Linked DNA regions of Homo sapiens: region 1 is linked to region 2. Evidence: promoter capture Hi-C in 16 types of primary human blood cells and fetal thymus (Javierre and others, 2016). All regions are on one chromosome and are shown on one strand. Each heading gives the region's core, a stretch centred on a gene start or on the middle of the fragment in contact. The rest is flanking DNA. Distances are from core to core; before and after follow the strand shown. Region 1 holds the start of CMTM2 (CKLF like MARVEL transmembrane domain containing 2). Region 2 holds the start of CA7 (carbonic anhydrase 7).

The links. Contacts are between HindIII fragments. The CHiCAGO score rates a contact against its expected background, and 5 or more counts as called.
Region 1: a contact is called between a fragment that was not itself captured here and the fragment with the promoter of CA7 in region 2, in 1 of 17 cell types (endothelial precursors). The highest score is 6.1, in endothelial precursors.

The regions. Positions count from the first base shown.
Region 1 is chr16:66,578,965-66,585,045 of GRCh38, reverse strand. It overlaps CMTM2 (CKLF like MARVEL transmembrane domain containing 2), which reads right to left and starts at 5,583. Exons shown (of 4, transcript NM_144673.3): 1 at 5,154-5,583; 2 at 4,862-5,020. The coding sequence starts at 5,438. CKLF-CMTM1 (CKLF-CMTM1 readthrough) reads right to left here. Exons shown (of 4, transcript NM_001204099.2): 4 at 5,911-6,081. The coding sequence ends at 6,045. CMTM1 (CKLF like MARVEL transmembrane domain containing 1) reads right to left here. Exons shown (of 4, transcript NM_052999.4): 4 at 5,911-6,081. The coding sequence ends at 6,045. The HindIII fragment of the contact is 685 bases long and covers 3,271-3,955 here.
Region 2 is chr16:66,843,157-66,849,898 of GRCh38, reverse strand. CA7 (carbonic anhydrase 7) reads right to left here and starts at 5,485. Exons shown (of 7, transcript NM_005182.3): 1 at 5,372-5,485; 2 at 2,672-2,869. The coding sequence starts at 5,411. The region is part of intron 3 of LOC124903699 (a long non-coding RNA gene); the gene reads left to right. RefSeq lists an enhancer at 5,056-5,557. The HindIII fragment of the contact is 7,096 bases long and covers 1-5,941 here.

The sequences.
Region 1 (6,081 bases), core at 2,364-4,863, 260 kb after region 2:
GAACCCGGGAGGCAGAGGTTGCGGTGAGCCGAGATTGCGCCATTGCACTCCAGCCTGGGCAACAAGAGCAAAACTCCATCTCAAAAAAAAAAAAAAAAAAATTGTTTTTGTAGAGGCAGGGCTTCCCTGTGTTGCCCAGGCTGGTCTCCAAGTCCTGGACTCCTGGACTCAAGTGATCCTCCTGCCTTGGCCTCCCAAAGTGTCGGGATTATAGGTGTGAGCCACTGTACCTGGCCTATGATGTCTTCTGTTGAAGTTTTAATTTTAATGGGATACATAGTCTGTCTCTCTCCCTCCCTTCCTCTCTGTCCACAAATCCCAGGGACATTTATTGAATATTCTATTCAACTGTTCTATAATGCTACCTCCGTCATATACCAAGTTGCCATATGTTTGTAGATCTATTTCTGAGTTCTCTTTTCTATCCCTGTATTAGTCTACTCAGGATGCCATAATAAAATATCCCAGACTGGGTGGCTTAAACAACAGACATTAACTTTCTCGCAGTTTTGGAGGCTGAAGTCCATGAGCAAGGTGCCAGGAAATTCAGTTTCTGGTGAGGGCTCTCTTCCTGGCTTGCAGATGGCTGTCTTCTCACTACGTTTTCACATGGCCTTTCTTTGATGCGTGCGTGTGTATGTGTGTGCATGTGTGTGTGTGTAGAGAGAGAGCAAGCGGGAGAGAGAATTCTCTGCTCTCTTATAAAGATACTGGCTGGGTGTGGTGGCTCACACCTGTAATCACAGCACTTTGGGAGGCCAAGGCAGGCAGATCACCTGAGGTCAGGAGTTCAAGACCAGCTAGGCCAACATGGCAAAACGCTGTCTCTAGTCAAAATTACAAAATTAGCCGGGCTTAGTGGCGCATGTCTGTAATCCTAGCTACTCAGGAGGCTGAGGCAGGAGAATGCTTGAACCAGGAGGTGGAAGTTGCAGTGAGCTGAGATTGTGCCACTGCACTCTAGCCTGGGTGACAAGAGCAAAACTCTGTCTCAAAACAAACAAACAAAAGACACTTATTTGATCAGGGCCCCAATGTTCTGACCTCATTTAACCTTAACTACCTCCTTAGAGGCCCATCTTCAAGTACAGTACAGTGGGGGTTAGGGCCTCAACGTATGATTTTGCAGAGTGGGAGACACAAACATTCAATCTGTAACAATTTTGTTAGTCTTCTTGTCAATCCCTGAGCTAGTACCAAAGCTTTATGGTAAATCTGATATCTTGTTGGGTGAGTCCATCCTTGTTAGTATTTTTTCTTCTTTGATAAGAATTTTAGAATCACCTTGTAAAAGTGCCATGAAAAACCCATGTTAGGTTGAAATTTTATTTAATTTATAGATTAATTCAGAATTGAATTGACATCTCTATGATAAGTTTTCATATTTGTGAATGTGGAATGTTTCTCTATTTACATTTTCCTTTGATGTCCATTACTAAAGTCTTATAATCTCTATGTAGTGTCTTACACATCTTTCAGTAGGTTTATTCTTAGACACCTTGTAGTTTGTGTTGCTGTTTTAAGTGATTTCTTTTAAAGAGCATTTTTTTTTTTTTGAGACAGTCTCGCTCTGTCACCCAGGCTGGAGTGCAGTGGCTCCATCTCGGCTCATGGCAACCTCTGCCTCCTGGGTTCTAGCGATTTTCATGCCTCAGCCTCTCGAGTAGCTGGGATTACAGGCATGCACCTCCATGCCTGGTTAATTTTTGTATTTTTAGTAGAGCTGGTGTTTCACCATGTTGGCCAGGCTGGTCTGGAACTCCTGGCCTCAAGTGGTCCACCCACCTCGGCCTCCCAAAGTGCTGGGAGTACAGCTGTGAGCCCCCGTGCCCAGCCAAAAAAATCCTATGTTTCTCATTGTTCATTGTTGGTATTCAGGAACACTACTGCTTTTGTGTCTGGTAACCTTGTGGAACTCAATCAGTTCTAGTGATTTGACTGTAGATTCTCTTAGATTTTCTGTGTAGATAATTCTATTAGATTTTTCCTCTTGTCAATCTCTATACCTTTTGTTTTTCTTGTCATATTGAACTAAGGTCTCTATCACAATGTTGAATACAAGAGAAGCTAGTAAGCATCTCTAAGGAAATGCTCCTGAAGTGTCACCTAAAATACAATTTGTGCAGGTTTGGATAGATGTCTATTTTATTTTATTTTATTTATTTATTTTTTGAGATGGAGTCTCACTCTGTCGCCCAGGCTGGAGTGCAGTGGCACGATCTCGGCTCACTGCAAGCTCTGCCTCCCGGGTTCATGCCATTCTCCTGCCTCAGCCTCCTGAGAAGCTGGGACTACAGGCACACATCACTGTGCCTGGCTTCTTGACACCTCTTTTATTATTTTTTAGACAGGGTCTCACTCTGTCACTCAGATTGGAGTGCAGTGGCACCATCAGAGCTCTCTGTAGCCTTGACCTCCTGGGTTCAAGCCATCCTCCCACCTCAGCCTCCTGAGTAGCTGGAACAACAGGCATGTGCCACCATGCTTGGCTAATTTTTAAATTTTTTTGTAGAGACAGGGTCTCCCTATGTTGTCCAGTCTGGTCTCAAACTCCTGGACCAAAGGGACCCATCCACCTCAGCCTCCCAACGTGCTGGGATTACAGGTGTGAGCCACCACACCCAGCCCAACAACCACTGATGGATGTTCTCACTCATTGTTCTGTCTCAATCTCTTATTTTCTCTCTCTCTGTGTGCTGTGTTCTGGGTAATTTCCCCATACCTTTCAGTTAACAGTTCCCTCCTTCAGCTATGTCTGATCTGTTTTTGAATTCATCTATTGACATTTTTATTTCAATAACTATATTTTCTATTCTAGACACTGTACTTTTTAAAAATCTGTCTATTTTGTCCTCATAGTGTCTTACTCTTTTCTCAGGACTCTTATGTCTATAATCCCTTAAAATATATTATTATTTTCAGACAGCTCTTCTATTATCTCATATTCTCAGGATTCTAATCCATTTGTTGTGTTTGTTGATTCTTAGTAATGGGGATTTTTTAAAATCAGGTGTTTAGTAGTTTTGAATTATTAGTTCATTTTTGACAAGGTTTTCCCCCCACCCCCACTGTGAGAATCTCTTCATGCCTTGATTGTGATTTTGCATTTGTTTCTATCAGGAGTCCAAGGATATCAGCAGAATGTCATCAGACTGGGATCAGTTTTTATGGTAATTCCCAGGGATGAAGGTTTCTGGGCTGCATGAAGGTTTCTAGGCTGCAGATAACAAAAATTCAAACTCCAATCTGTACAAAGGGCAGGCTTAAGCTTTCTATTTCTCAAGGAAGACTTCCTCTCCGCCCACTCAAAGCTCAGGCAGAGATGAACATGTTTTCTTATTCCTCTGTGTTGGGAATAAGAAGGGTATGTGTCTTTGTCCATCTTTTCCCTAAGGAGGTAGTCTTTCCAGGGCGCTGGCTTTATACAGGGTTTTCAGTTCTAAATTCCCACTTTGCTTAGGATCAAGGCCTTATTTCCTGACTTGAGAGTGCATGAAAATCCAGGCTGTAGGTTCCTGAGACAATACCTCTTGGACCATTCCCACTCATACTTTGTAGCTTATGTGATCACTGCCCTGTTTGCCATTTCTGGCGCCTGTGTGTTTTCATTTCTTTTTTGCCAGCTCATTCATTCAGTTAAAGCAATACTGGTTACATTTCCCCTGGTATTTTTAGGTAAGCACAGTGGGAAGATGTTCAGGGTTCATTGGTTTTTCATCTTGCTGGAACTAAAAATGTCTTCTCAGGCTCCTTGTTTAGGAACTTGTCCTCTGCCTGTCCTTTTACCTTGTCCTCTGCTTGTCCCTTTTCTGAGAGTCCTTATTTGGCCCTCCTGTCCTTTCTCCCTGTATCGGAGGTCCTCATCTGCTTCACCAAGACCTCTGGATCCCTGGACCCTAATAGTTTTTAACAAGAAGGCAGGATGAAATGTACTCATAAAGCTAAGTTTGAAGCTTTTTTCTGCTACTTACCAGCTGAGTGACCTGGGGGCAAGTTACTTGGCCATTCTAGGCCAATTTCCTCATGTGTAACGTGAGTGAAACAGTGAACAAGAGGGCTCTGGAGGCAGGCTGTGAATGTGCAATGAACAAAGGGACTTGGGAATTGGGGTCTTCATTGACTGGCAAGGGGTTAGGTGGTTGTGCCCTGTGGTTAAACAGGTGATGGGCAGGGATTCAATTCCATGAGTCCTCAGGCACGGTGTCAAGCAATTTACATTTAATCCTCAGGATTGAATGTCAGTTCTGCAAGGAATGTGACTGTCTCATGTTACAGATGAGGAAACAGGCTGGGAATGGTTTAGTAACTTGCCCAGTTCTGTCTCTTTCCACTAGATGACTGCTTTGGGCTGAACATCCTTCTGATCCAAACATCCTTTATAGGGATATTCACTGGAGACCTAACGCTGCTTTAGAAGTGATTTTTAAAAAAAATTCCCATTTTGTTTTATTTTATTGACTTATGGGAGAGTAATTTTCTTCTTTGAATTTTGGGAATGGGGTCCTTCTGGGGTGATCTCCTGTCAAGTGTGAGCTGGCACAGGAGTTCGGAGGAACAGCTGGTTGCTACACCTCCCCTTCCCCTAAAGAGAACAAAGGCTCAGGCCCTCTTTGACCACCAGGTAAGTAAGAGTTCCCCACTCTCACTCCAACACACAGATAGGCTTTTTGGAGCATTTTCTGCCTAGCTACCCCTCTTGCACCCAGCTGCCTCTGCCTGGGCCCCACTGATGTTCTGAGTCCCTGACCCAGGCACAGATATGGGAGGTGAGGTGTGTCTCTCTGTTTGGTGACTTTCCAGGTGCCAAGACACACCTGATCAGCATTCTGGATGCAGGCACTCCCCATCACCCCTTACTTACAGAAATGGGCCACAGGATGAAGGGTATGTATCTATGAATGGCAAAGCTGTACAGTAAGATGAAGAAGCTGAAGAAGGATATCTCCATGGTGATGATAAGCCTCAAGATGGGGTGCACGGTGAGTGAGGACAACAGTATCATTGCAGCTATTAGGCAGCCCTGCAGTGAGACATAGACACCTGAGCCAGCAGCAAGGGCCTTTCACCATCTCTCTGAGGACCCCTGGAGCCTACTCCTCCTTCCCCCCACCCTCGGCCAAGGCCCCCCACCCAGGGATACCAGTTTAGCTCACCAAACTCCGAATCTTGATCTCAGCGTGCCCCAAGAGCCAGAACTCTTTATTGCTGTCTTTTAATTCCCACCGGTAGCGGCGACACCCCCTCCTCGTGCCCACTTCGTGCTTGGGCTGCACCGCCTTTTGAGGTTTGTCCGATGGCTCCTTATGGTCCTGCACCGCCTTTTGAGGTTTGTCCGATGGCTCCTTACCGTCCTTCTTGTCTTCCTCGGGTTTGGCCCCGGGTGGAGGTGGAGCTGGTGCTGGCTCTGGCTTGGCCCCCTTTGCCGCCTTAGGTGCCATGACTGACTCGGTGTCCTTGGCTTCTCACAGCTGGCCTGTTTCTTCTCTCTCCTGCTGTTTCTGGGTAGGCCAGGCCTACTAGAGTGCCTGGTGTCCACCGAGCGGCTCAGAGGGCGTGCTCAGCTAACTGCCAGGACCACCGAATGCCAACTCCCGCGCCCTCTCCACGCGCGCCCGTCTCCTCGCGCAGCTCCCATCCGCCCGGCAGCGGCCGGATCCTCCCACCCTCCACGCGCCGGCCCCCGACGGGCCCCAACTCCGTTCCCAACCCGCCGGTCCCACCTCCGCGCGGAGCTGCCCTCGCGGTCCCATCCCGGCGTCTCCAGGTGGCCCCAGGTCTGTAAGCCGCCGCTCCGCTGCGGGGTCGGGGGGCTGCGAGCACCGGGTCACGGCCCTGAGCTCCGCGGGCGCAGCGCCAAGCGCAGGAAAATACAACGCGACTTTCACACAAGGCAACGAGAGGAAGCAGGTGTTCTCGATAAAAGCAGCAGCCCTAATTTTATGGTCACATTTAGGCTGGAATGGGTGACAGCATGCGAGCTCGGGGGTGGGCTCGGAGGCAGCGATTCGACAGACACGTGCATCTGCTAGGGCGCCGGGCTGGCTTCAGGCGGGCCTCTGCGGGGCGTCGGGGCCGGTTTCG
Region 2 (6,742 bases), core at 4,236-6,735:
GATCTGCCCACCTCAGCCTTCCAAAGTGTGGGATACATTTTTCATTTGGAAAATTCACTGGGCTGACTGGGCTTGGGTTGGTCCCCACTGCCCCCTAGACCCCTGTCCCTTGAGCTGGGCCAGGGCAGAAATCCTGACAGCCGGCAGGTGGCAGAAGGGTCTGGGACTGACAGAGGACAGCTCTCTATCTAGCTGTCCTCCCCGCTCCTGCCCGATTTCCCATGGAGGGTGGGACCCTGCCTCCCAGGACCCCCATTATCACTGACAGTTAGGCCTACCATGTCTGAAACCCTGATCCAGGGCTAGGTTGAAGAGACTATTTTGTTTAGTCTGCATAGTAGCCCATGAGGGACAGAACTTATTATTATCCATATTCTACAAAGAGAGAAGCTGAGGCACAGTGATGACGAGGCATTTGCTCAAGGTCACACAGCAAGGCACTGAACTAGGGTATGAACTAGTATCTCTTATGTCCAAAGCCCAAGCCACTAATCACCAGGCAACACTGCCTCCCTAGAACCTTGAAACTTCTTTAAACTTTGTGCTTTTCCAGAAGAGGAGGGTAGCTCCTGAGGGTCTCTACCTTCCTGGACAGGCCCAGGTGCCTCCAGTGCCGCCTCCCCCAGAAATGGCCTCTTCTGAGGGCCCCACTTGTGCTGGCTTTGTAACTTTCTTGCCTTGACACCCAGTGAGCTGGGGCCATGCACGAGGCCTCCTGGGACTGATAGAATTTCCAGCTGAAAGGGATCTGGAGGTGGAGGGAGCCCCAGCTAGGCTTGAATGTGAGCTCCTGGATCAGATAACACCCCAGGCTCAGAGTTCCACTGGTCCCTTCCATGATGGGTGACCAGGGTAGGGCTTTGGCCCTGTGGCCTCCTTAAGCAGGAGGACAGGACAGTCCAGAAGTCCCTCTTTCTTGCCCGGTCTTATCAAAGAGGCAAGACCTGGGCACTGGCTAGGAGTCTGGGAGTAGTAGCTGTGGGTGGGGCCCTAATCAGGCTGCCCCATCCCTGGAAGCAGGAGCGGCTGAGCCTGCAGGCTAAGCAATTGGATAGGTCTGCAGATGCCACCCTCCAAAGCATGCCTCACCTGGGACCCTATAGTGTGGGCTCCTAGAGAGGGAGCTCCCTCCGTAACACCCCTTGACCTTGGACCCCTTAGCCTCCTCCCCCAGTTCACACACAGAATGTGCTGCCATTCACGGGGCACTCAATGTGTGTTTGGCACTCTGCTGGCATCAACCCGTCTGACCTCTGGAGTGACCCACAGTGGGTGAGTGGCAGAGCCCCACCATCTCATTCCTCTTTTCACTGGCTTCCTGCGCCCTCCGGCCTGGGCATTCTGGGTGGGGGAGGGAGCCCCAGCCAGGCCTGAAGGCAACACCCCAGATCAGTAATCCAAAGGCATGTCCCCCTGTGTCTTCTCCCACCCCAGTGGCCTTCATTGAGCTACTGATTTCTTAGTTGAGCCCCCAGTGCCCTCTGAAGGCTGTTAGAAGGGACAGTCATATGAAAACTGTTCCTTGCCAAACTATCATCTAGGGTCAGCTAGAGCCCCACGCCCCCTCCCCAAAGCTCTGAGTAAGAGGCTTTTCTTAGAATTCAGTACCAGGAAATAAATGCTTTGTCTCTCTCCTGAGGATCTGCTAGACTCCCTTTCTTTTGCAGCAAAAACTATAATCAATCCTCTTTCTGTTTTTTCCTAGCCTACCAGGGAACTCAGAACTAAGTAAGATCACTCTTCTCATGAAAGGTCTGGCTTCCTTCATCCTCTTTGCCTTTTAATTTTCCATTTGAAACTTAAGTTCCTTTGAGGGCTTTTATTGTATTTGTGGGGAGGGGAGAAGGAGGAGGAAGGAACCAGTTATTAATACTTCCTTACACAAGAAACTCTAGTAGGTTTCTTCCTCGCCCCATTCCACCACTCTACCCAGTCGTAAGGCCCAGTCATAAGGACGAAAATCCCTTCAATGAACAGCACTCCTGTCTAGGAATTTATCATGAAAGAATCTGGACTCTAATCCCAGGGCAAAGAGGCCTTGGAAGGAGCTGCCACGAATTCCCACTGGCCTCTTACTGGCCCAAGATGGTTGGACCTTGAAGTCATAGGTGAACTGGAGAGAGAGAGAGAGACCTTCAGGCTGGACCAGGCTGCTTCTGGCCCTCCCCAGCTCATCAAGCCTCTATTTGCCCATCTGAGAGATGGGTTATTGAGAAGAATAAATGAGCGGCTTGTGACTTTAGCAAGGGGTTTGGCACTTGTAAATTTTAGCTCCCTTCTCTCTCCCTGCTAGGCTTGGCCAGATCACACAGCGAGGAGGGCTTGGCAGGTCAGTGATGGGGCAGAGAGTGAAAACAAACCTGATCTGTAGCACCACAAGGAAGGGAAGGAAGGGAAGGAAAGAAATTAGCATTTCCTGAGCATCTGCTGTGTGCCAGATCTATCGACCTTACTTGGTTTTTTCATTTTTCCCCTCTATGACCTAAGAGGGTAGGTCTTATTGCTCTCACTTTATACATAAGGAGACTGAAGATCAGCCCAAGGCTTCACAGCTGGTGAGAGGAGGAACCTTTCTTACCCACCATAGCATGCTTCCTGAGACTGCCCAACACAAGGTTAGGACCCTAAGGGGCCAGGGGCCAGGTGCCAGGCTTTGGCAGGGGCCACTTACCGGTTCGGTCATCGCTGTCATTGAAGTCTACCTGGACAGAGTGGCCATTGTTGGTGATGCTGAGGGACATGCAGGCCTCATAGGAAAGCTCCAGTGGTTGCAGGCTGGGAGAGTACACAGCCTGGCTGGAGATGATATTGATGGGTGATTGGCGATCTCCCTGGGCAATGGGATACAGCTTGTGCCAATGCGAGGGGCCTGCAGGTGGGGAGGAGGGCAAGGACTCAGGCCAGCCAGGATCTCTGGGCTTCAGGCCGAGGACACCCATAGGGGAATGGTCTCTTCAGCATCCTTTCAGAGGTGAGCCCCTGCATTGGAGCTGCACAGCTTGGAGTTCCAATCCCAGCTTTGCCATTTCCCCTTTCAGCCTCCATTTCTTTGTCTGTGAAATGGTCTCACTAAAACTCACCTTCCAGTGCTGATAGGAGGCCCAGAGAGGTACTGTATGGAAGGGAACATAACAGCTACAGGCTCGGGGTGGCTCAGAGTAATAAGTCTCCCCAACAGGGAGACCTCCAGACATCTGAAGTCTCTGACCTGACCCCATCAGTATCTCACCTCTTTCTGTGCCTTGGGCAATTTGGTGTTGGTGTTTGTGATAAATAACAACAAAAACTCACATCAACCTAGCTTTGACTCTGTGACATGTATTTGCCTCTCACAACCACCTTGTGAAATAGAAACCAGCAAGATCCCCATTTCACAGATGAGGGAACTGAGGGCCACTCACACATGTGTGCATGCATATGTACTAATATAAATACAGCATGTGCATGCACTGCCCCCAGCTGCCCTCCCAATGTGTGTGCCTGCAAGTCCATAGAGATCTTCCTATGAACACATTAATCTTTCTATGATCTTCCATTGTGCACACAGAGCAGCCAGGCCCAGAACATTCATGTGTACAAACACACACACAGCCCTGCAGACTACATCTGACACACGCATATGCTCTCTCACACACAAACCCCTCTGTTGGAGACCCAAGTTTGCATAAAGGACCACAGCAAAACACATGCCCATGCACACACACACACACACACACACACACACCTGCATACACACCCACAGGCGCCCACCACCTGCCTCCCAGAGGATCCATCTGCAGCCGAGAGGCTCAGCATCTCCCTGGGGAACATCCTGAGATGCAGCCTATTTTTAGAGCTACTGCCGGCTGGTGCTTCTCCCCCTTTTTGGCTTCTTAAGTTTTCCTGAGAAAACAGCAGCAGGTGCCGACAGAGCCGTGTCCCCAATGGATGACTCAGAATCGTGGCCCGGCCCCTCTGGGTTATTTTTGAAGCCCTGTGAACACTGCTGCATGCCGGCACCTCTGTCCTCTGTCCTTCCCTTCCTCGACTGGACAATCCAGCTCTGCCTGGGTGATGGGGTGGCTGCTTTGGGGGAGCAGGCCCATGGAGCAGGCTACACAGGACACTGGGTGCTCAGAGCTGGTGGGCATGACTAGCAAGAAGAGCTGGAGGCAGGGGACTCTGGCTCTGGGGGAAGCACCCAAAAGGTGGCTCAGAGCAGGTGCTGGGAGAAGATGATCCCTATGGGTCCTGTCCATCTGCCCCATGTCTGCCTGTCTCTCCCTCTCTGCTTGTCTATATCATCTTTTTCTGAATGTCTCTTTCCAGCTCTTGCATACCCAGATCTGGGGGTTCTCTTCCAAAATATGCTCCTTTGTTCTTGGGGCCCCAGAGGGAGCCAAAGACTCCACAGCACCCTCCCTCTGGTCTACTGCAACTTTCTGGCTTCCCAGACTGTGGTCCCCCACCCAACCTCACAAAGTGACTGCCTCTCCGCAGAGGAGTGGGGCTGGGGGATGTTCCTCCCATCATTACTTTTTCTTCTCCGCACCCCACCTGTCTTGCACTGGCTCCCCAGGGAAATAGGGAACCCCTTACCCCACACCCCCACCCCTGCTTGGTAAGAAATGGCCCCAAAGGGAATTGACTGCCCCAGACCCACACTCCAGCCGTCTGGCTCTCACCTTCTGCCTCTTCTCCCTTTCTCTGAGTCCTAAGGAAACTGAGGCAGGATGAAGGAGCTCTCTTCCGCGTCAGCCCAGGAGGCTGGTGTGGGCCACGGGCTCCCACGACTCACACCCGGACGTGCGCAAACACCCTGCTCGGTGTAGACACCCAGACACATGCTTGCGCCCCCAAGTGCCCCCTTCCCTCACGTACCGGCCGAGAAGGCAGCTCGGCCACTTCTGCGGGGAAATTCTCTCCGGGGGACACTGCGCCCTTGCCACGCGGAGCCCCGCTCCCCCGAGGTCCCCGCTCACTTGCCGTGCGCGCTCCCCGCAGACACCCGCGCACAGCGCTCCGCGGCGCCCGCCCCCCGCTGCCCTGGGCCACCCCCACGCGCTGCGCACGCCCGGGGCGAGTGAGTGAGAGTCTGGGCCTGGGTCTGAGCGGGCTGGGCAATCAGGGGCTTCGCGGAGGAGGCGGCAGGACACAGCCGCCAGGTCGCTTGCTGGCGGCGGGGCCACCCGGGGCGCAGCGCGGACTTTGCGTCTGGCGCGGGGGACCAAGGCTTGGGCCAAGTTCGGGGGCCGGGATGGGAAGAGGGGTCCCGCCCAGCCTGGAGTGTGGGAGCTTTCCGGTCTGGGAAACCAGCTGGGCAAGAGGGTTGGGGCGAGTGCAGTTGGGTCGGGGGTCCGAGCCAGAGGCGGTGGGGGAGGTCTGTGCCTACCGTCGTCCTGGCCGTAGCCCCAGCCGTGGTGGCCGGTCATGCCGCTGCCGTCCCCGCAGCCGTGCACCTGCCCGGTCGGCTCGGTCCGCTCGTTCGGGCTGCGGCTCCGGCCCCGCTCGCTACCGCGGAGCAGCCTCTTAAAGCAGCGGCTGGCGGGAGGAGCAGTTCCCGGGGGACCCGCCCCCCACCCCCCAGCAGGGCCAGAGAGGCCGGCCTGCCCCGCCCTCGCCCGCCGGCGAGCCAGTTGAACCCCGAGCGGAGATTCAGGGCAGGAGGAAGTAACCCTCTCCCCCCAACTCCCACCCCTGCCCTGGCTGGGCGACTATCCCTCTTTTTCCCCCAGCAACCCGTGCGGACTCTGGGACACTAGATGCCCGTGCCGCACATGGCGTCCCTTCCCTAGGCTTGCCCCAGACCTGCAAATGCCACCACCAGAGACCTGAGCTCTGGGTCCTGAATCTTTTGGGGTTGGAAAGTCCCCTTTAAACTGCAAACTACACTGACCATCAAGTGTCCAAAACTGGAGCTTCCACTGTTTGCCAGAGGCTGTTGCAGGCGCTGGACCAAGCTTTGGGTCCTTCCTATGGTATAACCCTCTCTGTTACCCTACAAGGTTGGGTGCTTCCATCAGCCCTATCTGACAGAGGAGGGGAGTGAGGCCCAGAGAAGTGAAGTGACTTGCCCAAGGTCATCTAGCCAGGGGGTAAAGGGTTCATTAGCTGGGGTTCTTACTCCAGACACTGGGGGTTTTGTGGGATTTGTTTGTTTGTTTGTTTGTTTGCTTGTTTGTTTTTAGACAGAGTCTTGCTCTGTCACCCAGGCTGGTGCTATATCAGCTCACTGCAACCTCCACCTCCTTGATTCAAGTGATTCTTCTGCTTCAGCCTTCCAAGTAGCTGGGATTACAGGTGTGTGCCACCACATCCAGCTAATTTTTGTGTTTTTTGTAGAGATGGGGGTTTCACCATGTTGCCTGGGCTGGTCTTGAACTTCTGGCCTCAAGTAATCCACCCGCCTTGGCCTCCCAAAGTGTTGGGATTAGAGGAGTGAGCCACCACTCCTGGCCTGACACTGGGGTCTTTACCATTTCTCCTTGGTGCTGGGTACAAGGGTGTGCTGTGAGTGTGGGGGTCCGGGAACCCTGGGGTAGATGCAGGGACAGGAATGGCAATGTGAACCCTTGGCCCAGGTGGAACCAGATCCCCCAAGGGGGAGTGAGAAGGAGTGGCATCAACCAATGGGCCTGAAGACAGGCAGACACCAGGTGGCTTCCCCATGGAGCTAAGTCTGAGGCTCTGACTTCCACCCTCCCTGTTATTTTGTCTACTGCTTCCTCCTTTCTTCAGGGACTCTGCTTTGTCCCTCCATAGC